Regions from separate parts of the Homo sapiens genome. Here regions 2 and 3 are each linked to region 1. Evidence: promoter capture Hi-C in 16 types of primary human blood cells and fetal thymus (Javierre and others, 2016). All regions are on one chromosome and are shown on one strand. Each heading gives the region's core, a stretch centred on a gene start or on the middle of the fragment in contact. The rest is flanking DNA. Distances are from core to core; before and after follow the strand shown.

Region 1 (4,590 bases), core at 708-3,207:
AAAATAGGTCTGGTGTCTAACAAATATTTATTAAGGTAGCTGAAGAATCCAAAGGTACTCTTACATTTGCAAATGGTACATAACTTCAGTATAATAAGAAGTGAAGACAGGCCTGTCTGAATAAATAAAACAATGAAATATCCCTGAGTTATTTTTTTATCTTAGCTTCGCTGAACTTTATGTCTAAGTATCCAAGAGAACTTGCAGATAAGTAATCATTTTACAAAGAACTTAAAGCACCAAAGCCAACAGGTTTTTCCAGCATAGAATTATTTTGGTTTATAAGCATCCTTTTAAGGCCTGGCCTGTAACACATGCATGTTTCCTCATTCTCACAAAGCTGAAATTCAATCATCTTCAGGTTATATAAACTGCTTGGCTCTCATCCATTTATCAGGAAAGCTTCCAATTGGTAAGTGAAGAAGAAAGGCAAAGTGAAACGTTAAACAGAAATCTCAGTAATTTTAGAATGTGGAAAACAAACATCTACTTCAATATTAACAGCTTGCATATTAAAATGATAAATGAAGAGAGGAAAGACCTTTTTTTTGTAATCTATTTGCAAAGGCAAGTGTCTGTTACTCTTAGGGGACAGCAGGCTACCCCGACACTTTTTTTTTAAACCATGTATCAAACGTTTCTTTTATTAACCTAAAAACATTTGACTCACACATTAAAATGCCAATCAGGTAATTTCCTCTATAGTGAATCAATTCTTTGCACAAGCTTTATTTTATAAAATATACTCAATTTTGACATTAAGACATTAGATTCTGGTATATGTTAAATCAAGTTCTAACATCTATAGTACATATTTATAATTTTCTTTGCAAAGACTGATAATGGAGTTACAAAACATTCTAAATTCTCATTTCGTTAGGTTTTGTCCGGTCTTAACATTTATTCCAACTGGATCATTACCAAGACCTGACCTCCTTTTTGATCTCCTGTGAGTACAAATTAAGCTGGGAGAAGTTTCTGGAGCACCACCCTCTGTGCATATGTGGAACAAGTAATTTGGTTCAGACGAAACAGAATTATGTGGAGTCCTCGGCAGGTGGGTTGAGAACTACGCAGGTAGGACTCACTACTGACCGGTCACCACGTCATCCCAAATCCTTTCAACCCAAGACTCTACCTGATGGGAGCCCCCAAGCCACTTACCAGAACCACAGACAACAAAAATGAAGAGAGCCAATAACCAGGGTCCTACAGACGCCTTCTCTTCGGGGGCATTTCTCTGCAAAAGCGAAAATCCACCATTTCAGATGCAGAGAAACCACTCGGACCCCAGGCTCCCACGCCTGCACGCCGGTCGCCGGCCCCCTCACCTCACAGGTCTCCCCTTCCGTTCCCGAGCCCCCACAGTCTGGCGGTTCGCAGACTCGGGCCCCTACCCCTCCACGGCACCAGCCCACGGTCGGCCGGATCCGGGAGAAAACGCGACGCGGCCCCAGGGACCCGGACTCAGCTCCGGCTGCGGAACGCAGAGGGGCGCCCGCTCTTTCCTTACCGAGGTCTTGGCGACGTTGCCGCGCTGGGTGATGTTCTTGCTGTGCTTCTCGTTGGCCATACGGATCCTTTGCTTGGCGACCATCTTCGCGGCGCCACCACCTGCCCCGGCCACCCCTCGGACTCGCTCACTCGCCTGCCTCCTCTGGAGCCGCTGCGAGGCTCGGCTCGTGGTGCCCGCGCCGCCGGAGCGCCGAGGTTCTCAGGCCAGACGCTAGCTACGGCCGCTGGGCCTGGGCGCCGCAAGCGCGAGGTCTGAGCACAAGCCGGGCGCCGGCCGCCGACTGACTGACCGAGCGGGGCAGGTGCGCAGGAGGAAGAGAACTGGCCGCCGGGTCGTTCTCGCGCCGCCGTCGCCGCCGCTTTGGCCGCCGCCGTGAGCGCGGAGTGAAAGAGGAAGGAAACGCAACGCAACAACGGGAATGTGCAGCCCGCCGCCTCGATCTACTTTGGGTTCGGCTGCCAACGTCAGCACTAGACGGACTCCGCCCCGCGGAAGTGCGCGCCCCTCCCGCTGGAGAAGGAGGGCGAAAGCAGGCGCACCCTCCCAAGCTCTGTCAAGCGTCGCCCTAGATTTGCGCGTGCGCGTTTGGGCGCCTTTTCCGCGTCACTCCGTAACCGGAAGTGAATTGGCCCCGAGGCTGATGGCTCCGGAAACACCAATTCGCTGTCTCCACGCATGAGGAGACGTGTAGGGGCCGGGTTCGGCCCTGGTGAACTCTCACCCGAGCGGTTTCTCTTTCCGGGACAACATGGCGCCGTCCACGCCGCTCTTGACAGGTGAGTTCTGAAGAAGCGAGGGACTCTCTTTCTTCAGACTAGTTTCTTATTTTTGTCTTTGCCTTTGAGAACTACCCGAGGAGCCGGGGAGTCTGATCTGCCTTTTCTTGTGGCTTGCGGAAAGGCCAGACTGTTGGCTTTCTTGATATAGCGTGGCAATCGGAAGTGAAGTCTCCGCCTCTGGGCTTTCGTATTCCCCCTCCCTTTCACCCATCCATCATTCTTGCCTGCGGATTCATCTTCTACAGAAATAGAAGAAGGGGGAGAAAAACAATGTGCTAGTTGAATTTGTGACACATGGGTCTGCAATACTGGTGTTACACGGGCCCTTGTGAAGTCATTTAGGTCTACAATAAGAACAAAGACAAACATGAGTTAGTCCTCTAGAATGATCACGCACTTTAAATACACCTGGACTTAAGTAATTCCAGATTCTGGCCTTCCTGCCTTAATGAGGTTTGTAGGACTGAATAGGGAGAGTGGAGCTGTAATGCAGGTTTCAAATGATGAAGGTGTGGTTGGGAGAGGGTGTAGCAGTGAGCATGATAGAGATATTCTAGCAACATTTGATTTTGAAATGGTTATGAGCATATTAGAAATAGAACATTAGAGGACTCTTGAAATTTTGAAGCTAAAGACTGTAGTGTTGGAGGAGATAATAAACTTAGATTGGAAAATGCTGGGGAAGTTGCTTTACTAGGGTGTGGCTAAGAGTCTGCATATGAGTATTACGTAAGGAAAAGAGAGTCGGGAAGGAAAAGAAGGTTTTGGTTAAGTTCTGATAACTATATAGAAGGAAAAAGTCATTAAGAGAAAGGTTGTCTGCATTTAAGGAGGGAGGCTATTCCCTCCCTTCCCCCCCGCGAAAGGAACCTTAAAACATTTTTGCACTTTTTGCCAGTCTACATTTCTATTTTTACATTTTAAAATCTTTGTTATTAAGCGCCATGCCCACTGATGCTCAGTCTGTCTTCTGCAGTTTAGTCATCATTTATCAAACGCCGAGTATAATCTTCTAGATAATATACCAGGCAAAGACTGTTTAAAAGGCAAAGTTACATAATAAATTTTTTTTTAGGTTTGTAAAGGTAGCTTGTTATTCACAATTTTTAATACTAAATGCTTATTTGAACTCTAATGAAAAAATTACATTCTAAAATCTGATAAATAACCCCTCCTTTAAAAATGCCTACAGTAGGTAGTTCCTCTCTGCTTACAGGGTAGATTCCATCCTATGTAGCATAGTTATGTAACCATTTATAATCTTTGAATTGCTCTTGAGACTCATTTATTTCCTTGCCATCCCATCTTATTTGGTGCTCCATCAATACTGAACTGCTTCTGAGTCCCTTTGAACAACCTGTTTCTTCAGTCTAGTACTATCCTATGCCTCTTGTTGATTTGGCAAACTCTTTTTCATCTGTTGAAATTAAAATTCATTTTAGATATCATTGCTCTGTGAAGCCTTTCGTCACTCTACCCAGATAGAGTCAGTCACTTCCTGGGCTATTTTTGTACCTGAAATATATTTGAAATTTTATTTCACTTACTAAGTAGGATAATTAGACATTCACTTGCCTTTCTCCCCTGCTAGACTGTGAGTCCTTCAATGTCAGCGACAGGGTCTTATTCATATCTGTCTTCTCAGTACTAGTGCAGTGCCTGGTAGACAATAGATACTCTAAATCAGGGGTCCCCAACCCCCTGGGCCGGACTGGTACTGGGCAAGCATTACCACTTGAGCTTCCCCTCCTGTCAGATCAGTGGGGGCATTAGAGCCTCATAAGAGCGCAAACCCTATTTTGAACTGTGCATACAAGAGATCTAGATTAGATTTGTCTGTTTAGACTATCCTTTTAAATTAATGAAGGATAGCCACTTTATAGTAAATTAACCAAGGATGACAATTGTCTTACAGTGCTTAAAATCAGGGACTTTGTAAGAGCTTAAATGTTGTCTGTTCAGTCTACTCTTCATATTCTCATATTCTTAGAGGCCCAGAGAGATTAAGTGGTCCGATTCACACTGCAAATTGGCAGGATTAGGATTATACTTATTCAGATTGTTCAACTCTGTGGTCCATTTTTCTTTCACTAGAACAAACTGTTTAATCTTTTAAACATTCTCAGTGTACATATTTCATTCAACAATAGATTATTTTACTTCCAAAATCTTTTGTTAAATTTAGACTCGTGGGATTTTAGAGCTGTGAATAATTTGCAGATTAGCCAGTAAATTTTGTTAACCCCAACTCTTAATTGGGAGTGACAAGCCAAAGCAGGTGAAAAAGGGATTTTT
Region 2 (4,590 bases), core at 2,091-4,590, 320 kb after region 1:
AACTGGCTATTCTGAAAATAACAGGTTAAATTCATTCAGACTAGATCCTCTCTGGTTGATTTTAACATAGTCATTGACTAAAAGTATCATTTATTCAGATAGCCCCTGACAACCCATAATAATACTTTTTGTTTTTTTGCCGAAATATGTTTTTTTCAGTGCATTTACCACTTATCTTCATCAGATTACGGGAAGCATTTTTGTATAAATATCAAGCCTGATGGAAATGGATTTATCTTAATTCCTCACTTAAGTTCCGAACTCACCTAGAATTGCATCCTCTGAGACTGGGCTTTTCTTTTTTCTTTTTTTTTTTTTTTCCGAGACGGAGTCTCACTCTGTCGCCCAGGCTGGAGTGCAGTGGTGCGTTCTGGGCTCACTGCAACCTCCGCCTCCCGGGTTCAAGCAATTCTCTGCCTCAGCCTCCCGAGTAGCTGGGATTACAGGTGCCCACCACCACGCCTGGCTAATTTTTGTATTTTTAGCAGATACGGGGTTTCACCATCTTGGCCAGGCTGGTCTGGAACTCCTGACCTCATGATCCACCCGCCTCAGCCTCCCAAAGTGCTGGGATTACAGGTGTGAGCCACTGCGCCCAGCCCTTCTTTTTCCCTTTTTTTTTTTTTTTTGAGACTGGGCTTTTCTTGCCGCCATCTTGAATCTGATTTGGTTTTCTCTGTTGCGCTTTTTTGCTGGCGTCATTTTCCTCACACCTTAGCTCATCATTCTATCCTGTTCTATTGCTCTGGGCTTCTCAGGAGACCTCTTTCCTTCACAAGACTGGCTTCTCCAGGTGTTAGAAAGTGTCTCTACATGTGAAGCAGATCCCTCTCTTAATTTCCCAAACAAAGCACAGGGAATATCAGGCTAGAATGTTTAACATCTTAATTTAAACACAAAGGAATTACAATGCAGGAAAACCTAAAATGTTACTTCTCCTGATCGTGTCTCTGCTTTAAGAAGCCCCTTGGACTTCTGACAACTTGCCGTTCTCTGTCACTTGGCTGTGTTCCCTAAATGTTGGTCCAGGCCCTGTGCAAGGCTCCCAGCTCTGGCAGCAGCATTAGGGTGGGGAGAGCCTTTCTTCCCTCTCCTTAGGCGTCCTCCTTCCTGTTCCCACGATGATTGATGGAAGAAATGCCTGCCCTTACCTACAGGGCATGGTTTCTAGACACAGTTCAATTCTCATTTTTCTCCTCTGTCTCTGGCTATTTCTTCTGCGCCTGCTTTCCAGGCTCTTCGCACACTGCCTGACTGCTGACACGAGAATTCCTAAGGGCTCAGCATTAGGCCCAGCTATCTTCTTGCTTCATACTCTCCTTGGGCAGTCTTACCCCAGGCCACCATGTTACTTACCCTTAGTGACTCCCAGGTGTATTTATTTCTCTGGTCCAAACCTCTCCATTGATTTCCAGATCCTTATTTCTGATCCATTAATCTACCTTTCCACTTGAATGTTTCATGTCTAAGACTAGATGTGTGATTTCTTGCCCTCAAAATCTGGTATGTTTTGAGTGTTTCCAAGTTCTGTGAAGGTACAACCTTCCATCCAGTTATCAAATCAGAAACCTAGAAGTCATCCTTGATCCTTCTTTCTTTCTTCCTCATCTCCCTCCCCATGCAACCTATTTCAGCCTTCTCCATTTTACCTACCAAGAGGTGTCTCCTGAGAGGCCCACTTCAGTCTACTTTAATTGCCTCCATTCTGTTCTGACCATCTCTTGTCCACACCACTGCCTAACTAACTAGTCTCCGCATGCCTAACTGGTCTCTGCATGCACTTGGGGCTCTCTCCAATCCATGTTCTACTCTGAGGCATGTGTTCAAAATGCAAATCTTACCAGGCCACTTAAAACCTTTCCAAGGTTTCTCACACCTTATAGTCTACACTGCCTTGCGGTGGCCCCACCTTTTGCTCCAGCTGCTTCACAACCACTCTTTAGCCCCACAGGCTTTTCTGTTCCTCAGGCGCATTCACCACAGGGCTTCACATCTGCTTGCCCTTCTTCCCCTTACCCTGTTATCTCTATGCAGCCTTCTTACTTCAGCTAACCATCTCTTCCTCAGACATGCCTTTTCCTTTTCTTTCAGTTCTTTATTATAAGATTGACGCACCCAAAATCTCTTCCCTTAGTTTTCAAGTTTATCTTTATTAAAGTGCTTTTTGATTAATTGCCATCTCCTCAGAAGAGCCTAAGTTTCATAAGAAAAGAGGGTGTGCCACATCTGATTTTGCTCGCTGTGCTGATTTTCCCCAGCATCAAGCATAGTGCCTGGCACATAGGGCATGTTAAAAAACATTGAATGGCCAGGCATGGTAGCTCATGCCTGAATCCCAGCACTTCGGGAGGCCAAGCGGGCAGATCACTTGAGGTCATGAGTTAAAGACCAGCCTGGCCAACATGGTGAAACCCAATTTCTACCAAAAAATACAAACAAATTAGCCAGAGTGGTTGTGTGCACCTGTAGTCCCAGCTACTTGGGAGGCTGAGGCACAAGAATCGCTTGAACCCGGGAGGTGGAGGTTACAGTGAGCCAAGGTCACACCAGTGCACTCCAGCCTGGGCGACAGAGTGAGACTCCATCTCAAAAATAAAAATAAAAATAAAATAAAAAACATTGAATGAATGAATGAATGAATGATTATGTCTCTAAGGCCCTGACAAGGGAATTACAACCATTAACAGAAAATGCAGGCCCAGGTGTGGCTGAAGAGTGCCCACAGCCTGGACAGCTCAGGTCCAGTCTCAGCCAGTTGCTATTCAGGGTTATTTCCACAGTGTGAAGTGAAGGGAATCTTAGGCCTCCCCCAACCTGGCCTGCTCCTACGGGTCTTGTGACATTGGTGAGAATGTTCTTGGAAAAATGATTCACACATCTTGTCTAAGAGCAAACAATAATTCGGGGGAATGTTCCAGTCTAAGTTGATATTTGAAAGAGGAAAATAGTTGCCATCGCCTCAAGGGTTCATTCCCACTAAAGACACAGTCAGTTTAGATGACTAGTCAGAAAAATTAATATCCCCGTCTTCAAGCAAACAGCTTTCTTCTGCTTTGTATTTGAGAAGCTGAAAAAAAAGTCATTTTTCTCAAAACAAAGTTTAAAAGTGAACTAATGGCTCTGAGAAACTTCCAGTTATTTTTATTTTTTTATTTTATTTTATTTTATTTTTTTTGAGACGGAGTCTCGCTGTCGCCCAGGTTGGAGTGCAGTGGCGTGATCTCGGCTCACTGCAGGCTCCGCCTCCTGGGTTCACGCCATTCTCCTGCCTCAGCCTTTTGAGTAACTGGGACTACAGGTGCCCGCCACCTCGCCTGGCTAATTTTTTGTATTTTTAGTAGAGATGGGGTTTCACCGTGTTAGCCAGGATGGTCTCGATCTCCTGACCTCGTGATCCGCCCACCTCGGCCTTCCAAAGTGCTGGGATTACAGGCGTGAGCCACCGCGCCCAGCCACTTCCAGTTATTTTTAAATAACATGTCTCCACTCTGAAGAAAAAAATCAAGTATTACCGGGTACCCTGTTTATAAGATAAAATAACTTATTTTCACTGAACATTGATATACAAAGTAATTAATAGTTTTATATATCAAAATTATACTTTTACATCTAAAACGTAGGTACTTAATCTTTCCTCCATTATTTTACTTATTTATAGACTTGTTCCAGGAATAATTTAACCCAAATTACAATACCATATAAAATATGGCAAACTAACATAAATTATAAACAAATTAAAAATTCAAAGGAGGAATAAGGGAAGGAACATAAAATGGATACAAGAATGAGGTCAATTTAAAAGTTGGCTTTTGTAAGGACCGATACACTACCCGACAGTCATCCTGCTTTTCTTCCTTCTACAAAACCCTGATTTTGTTCTAATATCAAGTGCCCTGTTCTCAGACTCAGAGGATGAACCATGATGATCTGAGTCATGGATCCCCTAGCTAGACAGCTCTTGTTAAAAGGAATATCTTTATTGTTTGCGACTTTTCGTGAGATCTCTTACTTGCAGCTGAGCAGTTCCTTACTAATGCACTGGTGTGTTTTTTAATTCAGCTCTAAGCAGTCAACTCCAAAAGAGACATTCAGTAAGAAACAATGTAGTGTCCATAAAACAAAAAACAGGCCCGCACCTCAGGAAAAGCACAATGTAAGTAAGATTAAGACCACATAAGCCCAAAGTCTGTAGGGATCCACTTATTTGTCCAGTGTATTTAAAATCCCCAGTGAAAACACCAATGATAAAGATACTATAATCCGCAATTCAAGCCTAATTGCCTTTCTCTTCTGACATAATTTATTATTCACCTTGAAGTTTCATTTCCTACATGGTCCTTAAGTTAAAACATTATTCTTTGAGCCAAATGCAAATGCATTTAATAAATGAATTTGAATGAATGCAGAAAGATTGTTCTTTGGAAACTAACCTTGGGATTGTGAATACAGTGCCCTAAGTCTGTGAGGTGGCAGATTAGCGGGGTGGCTGGCGGTGTCTACATTATTCTCGTGTACTTCTTTTAGAAGGAATATGTGTTTACTCTGTGTATCTCTTCAGAAAGAACATAGGCATTTAACAGGACAGGGAAA
Region 3 (4,590 bases), core at 1,417-3,916, 320 kb before region 1:
GAATTCTCCCTTTACTACAGTAATGAGGCGTCCACTAGTTAGGGAGGCATCAGTGTCCCTGAGAACTTCTGCAGTGGTTCTTTTGCAGGAGATGCTGCCTTAGAATTGGGCTTCATAGTCAATGGGAATGATACCACGCTGGAATACCAAAGTCCAGGTGGAGGCACTGAACCATCAGAGGCAAGGTGGAAGTAATTGTCGTAATGAGAAGCACAGCAGAAAGACAACCCTGAGCCTTGACCTGCGGGGACCCCTCGGGGTGGCTGATAGACCATGGTGTGTCTGCAGGTGAGATCACGGGCAGCCAGTGAGGGCCTGGCTTGACTTATGTCACTGAAAAGATCAAGAGCAAGTGGGCAGAAGGCTGGTGTCAGCTGCTATAATAAAAATCACAATCCCTCACCCAGTTTCTGCATGTGAGTCAGCTCTAAGATCCAGGACTCATTGATTGAAGGGGAGGTCAGGTCCCTTTGAGGAAGGATGCTGCAACAAACCACACCAAATATCTGTGGTAGCTCTTCCCCCAATCCTCCCCAGAGACTCCTTTAGCCATTTACCTGAGTAATTCTACACCGGAGAAAGGAGAACCCCTAGATCTTTCAAGGACTATTAGACATAGGATCTGAGTGGACACGAATGACAGTTGACCCAAGCACCACCATGGCCCCCTGTTAGAGTGGAACATACAGAACCTTGTGATAAACGGCCCACATCAGTCTCAAAATGGGCCTCGTGGGTCCATGGACCACACAGTGGTCATTCTCCCACTCCAAAAGTATGCTGGTAAACCAGCTCTCCAAAAAGAAAGAGGAAAAAAAAAAAAGTAGGGGGAGAAAAAAGCCCTGATTTTCACATATAGCACTGGCCAATTTCAAGTCCCCAACATGAAGTCATTGCACCTGAAGTAGGAAAAAGCGCCTTTAGTCCCGAGTGTAGAAAGAGGATGGATCTGTTAAACGACCAGCAGAACTCACTTGGGAGTTGGTCAGAAATGCAGAATCTCGGGCTCATCCCAGGGTATGAATCAGAACCTGCATTTTAACAAGATCCCAGGAAATTCATATGCACTTAAAAGATGAGAAGCCCCTGCTCCAGAACTATCCATAGATCCCCAAAGAGCCTCTATTTTTTTAGGTCTAAAGATTCTACAGCAGAGAGCATTTCTATTTTAAATGAATGAAGCTGTGACTTTCTCCAATATAGTTATCACTATCCCCATCATTGTCATCATCACTGACTGTCATCATTACCATCCCCGAGCAGGATCCATTAGATACCTACTTGTTTCATGGACCATTTTTTATATTAAAAAAAAAAAAGCCCATAATAACCTGACAATGTCTTCCCCTAGCTGAGAGCATTTTGACAGATATTTTTTCGAAGTAATCAGAGTTCTTTTTTTTCTTTTTTTTTTTTTCTTGGCTGGTTTCATCCTTTGGCAGGGTTCTACAACTTATTTGCTTTCACTTAGTTTATATCACTGTCCCTGGCAATCTCCACTTTCCCCGACTCCGCAGTTCACTCTTCATCTACCCCAACGCAGCCAGCTCTTCCCTCCCGGCCCCTCCACCTTACTCGAAGGTTTCTGCTATTGTCAGAACAGCCAAAGACAACAATGCTTCAACTGGCAGGAAACAGTCTTCACCCTCTCAGGATTTCCTATTATGTGATGTGCAGCCTTTTCCAGAAACACAATTGCATCTAAAAAAAGAAACTGCCTGGATTTACCTTCATCTCAACACAATGAGTCCATGGCCACCGTAGCCTTGAACGAGGGCCAAACACTCCGAAGCGCAGAGACTCAGAATCAATGGAGGTGAAGGAAGCTGCTTCCCAGGGACTTCCAAGCAAGGGTAGGCAGCTGTTTGCTTATTCCCCATTCTTTTGTTATGTTGTTTGATTTTGCCAGTGAAGCTTGGGTAAGAGGAAGGAAAGAGGAAGAGAGGGGCTACGGACCAAGAGGAAGGAATGGAGGGGAAGGGGCTCAGGATGATCAGGAGTTGGGAGCTATAACTGTAGGGTGGAGGGGATGACTCGAGAGAAAAGGAAAAGTAGCAGGTGAGTTGTTGAATGAGGAAGGATGAACTGGAGAAGAAAGAAAGGACAGCGGAGGTTTCACCATGATTTTTAGCTGTCTCTACATAGCTGGAATGATAGAGACCTCATAGCTGGGTCATGGTTTTCTGAAGTGGAGAATGAAGAGAGTTTCAATGTCAGTGCCAGGTCTGGCAGTTGTTTATTTCCTTCTTTACACCCCATCCCCCACCCCCACCCCCACCCCCAGTAGCATACCTACCTCTGGGAAGAGAAGTTCTCACCTCTATTCTCATTCCCTTCTCTGTGTAGGGAGAGTGCAGGAGAGTGGATGATGGAGGAGGTAAAAACAGTATCTTCAGAACTAGAGAGGATTTAGGTGTCTGTCCCAGTAATCTGAGACAAGAGAAAATAAAATGCAATTAAGTTGTGGGGAAGTAAATGCAGTTAAATAGCATTAGGCAACTGTTTCAGAAGAAATCCAGGCCTGAAAATAAAGACCTGGATTGGATACTGGAGGAAGTGATCCTGTAAGAGAGATGGGGAGTTTTCAGTGGTGAAGCTAGCAGGAGACAATGTGAAGAACATTTGTAATGACCTGGAAATTCAGGAAAAAACAGAGAACTGGTGAGAATCCAGGAGGCATGTGAGTTTGATGTTACCTGAAGAGGAATCTGCGGAAGGCAGCATGTCCTTCTGGGCCTCCAACTCTCACAATTCAGAGGTGAGCAGCCTCAGGCTCTAACCCCAGCTCTTCATTCCTTGCTTCACCTCTCTAAGCCTTAGTTGGGTTCCCCATCTGTAAAACCCAGACAATAACACCCATCTCATAAGGTGTTTGCGAGGATTACAGGAGATGTAAATGAGAAGTGCCACTTCCCATACATTCTCTTCAGGGAATTTATGGGCAGAGTCAAGATTCAGGAGGTGGTAAGAAAATAGTTTCGACCTGAAGTTAGGCATTGGACCAGAGCGAAAAGGAGATGCCAAGAGGCCAGAAGTAGAGTTCAGATCAGACCTGGAATTAAAGATAAGGTGAATTTAAAAATTACTAAGACCCTAAGGATCTACACTAGGTAAGAAGAGGGAAAGTGGTGGCAGTGGGGTGGGAGCCAGGTTTTTGTGCACATTTTGCCTTGGGGCCTCACCAAAGAGGGGATGTGGGAAGTTTCTCCCACTAGAAGCCTTCCAACCTAATGTAGGAAGATGGATAGAATTAGATTATCACCATTTTGCAACCCCTAATGAATAATGAACCTAGCCACTGATCATTATGCCAGTTATTAATTTATTGCCTCTCAGCCCCACATCCACCCTTCAGTAACTGCTCTGGGGTAATGGAATGGACTCTTCAAGCATTTCCCCTTTACAGTGAGATCGATGTGAAGCTTTGTCGGTAGAGGGCGCTGGAGGGACACTGTAGGAGAAGGGGGGCTTTTCTTCCTGGTTCCAGGGTACTGACCTTTGTTTTTTGTTGCTCCAGCTGCATGGTCTGTCAACAGTGCGTGTGTGAGTTACCCAGTGGTGCTCTGCCCCAGCCATATACCCAGAATGTACAGTCCCTCAGTGACCTCAGAGCCCCAGACTCGGCCCAGTGAACCTCACCTCAGTCCTTGGGATGTGGATTAACATCTGCAGTGGAGTCTCAACTCTTCCTGGGCACTGCTTTCCAGCATCAGCTGGCCTGCACCCCAGGATGTTGTTTCCCTGGGCCCACACAACATGAGCATTGCACACCAGACCCTCCACCCATTGCACACATGAGGCCTCACCTCCCAGACTTAACGCACCTGCACTCATTGGTTTCTTTCCTGCTGGCCTGGAGGCTGTGGACCGGCTCTGGCTGGACAGCCCAGTGAACTTAACTGCTATCTAGTAGGCCACATGCTTGCCTGCTCCAATAATGTTGGAATCGCAGCCTTGGGGAAGAGCCCACCCCTTCCAGTTTTGCTTTTCCTTGAGTACTCTCCCCTAGACATAGGGTACTCTTCAGGAGTCTCTTTATGTCTTCATAGGTACTCTCTTATCTTATGGTATTAGTTCATTCTCACACTGCTAATAAAGACATACCTGAGACTGGGTAATTTATAAATGAAAGAGGTTTAATTGACTCACAGTTCCGCATTGCTGGGGAGGCCTCAGGATTATTACAATCACAGTGGAAGGCAAAAGAGAAGCAGGCACCTTCTTCATGGGGTGACAGTACAGAGTGAGTGCAAGCAGGGGAGATGCCAGACGCTTATAAAACCATCAGATCTCAAGATAACTCACTCACTATCACAAGAACAGTATGGGGGAAACCACCCCCATGATCCAATTACCTCCACTTGGTCACTGCCTTGACACGTGGAGATTATGGGGATTACAATTCAAGATGAGATTTTGGGTGGGGACACAGCTAAATCGTATCACTTATCTTAATCGTTCTTTTTATGAAACTTCCAGTATTTGAATTAACGAATGGCTTCTGTTTCTTGAGTGGATCCACAACAACACAATCACGAATGGCTGCTAACTTCACAAAGAGCCAGCCAGAACTATGTGGCCTTGTTGGAA

Evidence for each region. The method cuts DNA at HindIII sites, captures the fragments that hold promoters and counts their contacts. A CHiCAGO score of 5 or more calls a contact.
Region 2: a contact is called between a fragment that was not itself captured here and the fragment with the promoter of SERP1 in region 1, in 6 of 17 cell types (activated CD4 T cells, naive CD4 T cells, erythroblasts and 3 more). The highest score is 8.7, in activated CD4 T cells.
Region 3: a fragment that was not itself captured here is called in contact with the fragment with the promoter of SERP1 in region 1 in 2 of 17 cell types (endothelial precursors and megakaryocytes); the score reaches 8.1 in endothelial precursors.

Annotation. Positions count from the first base shown.
Region 1 is chr3:150,544,539-150,549,128 of GRCh38, forward strand. SERP1 (stress associated endoplasmic reticulum protein 1) reads right to left here and starts at 1,958. Exons shown (of 3, transcript NM_014445.4): 1 at 1,514-1,958; 2 at 1,165-1,240. The coding sequence starts at 1,597. It overlaps EIF2A (eukaryotic translation initiation factor 2A), which reads left to right and starts at 2,249. Exons shown (of 14, transcript NM_032025.5): 1 at 2,249-2,292. The coding sequence starts at 2,265. RefSeq lists enhancers at 1,469-2,099, 1,545-2,744, 2,017-2,556. The HindIII fragment of the contact is 4,802 bases long and covers 725-4,590 here.
Region 2 is chr3:150,865,679-150,870,268 of GRCh38, forward strand. No RefSeq gene overlaps it. Among named protein-coding and RNA genes, the nearest start is that of MINDY4B, 37 kb to the right of the region's middle. The HindIII fragment of the contact is 8,369 bases long and covers 1-4,590 here.
Region 3 is chr3:150,224,518-150,229,107 of GRCh38, forward strand. No RefSeq gene overlaps it. Among named protein-coding and RNA genes, the nearest start is that of LINC01213, 12 kb to the right of the region's middle. The HindIII fragment of the contact is 1,508 bases long and covers 1,913-3,420 here.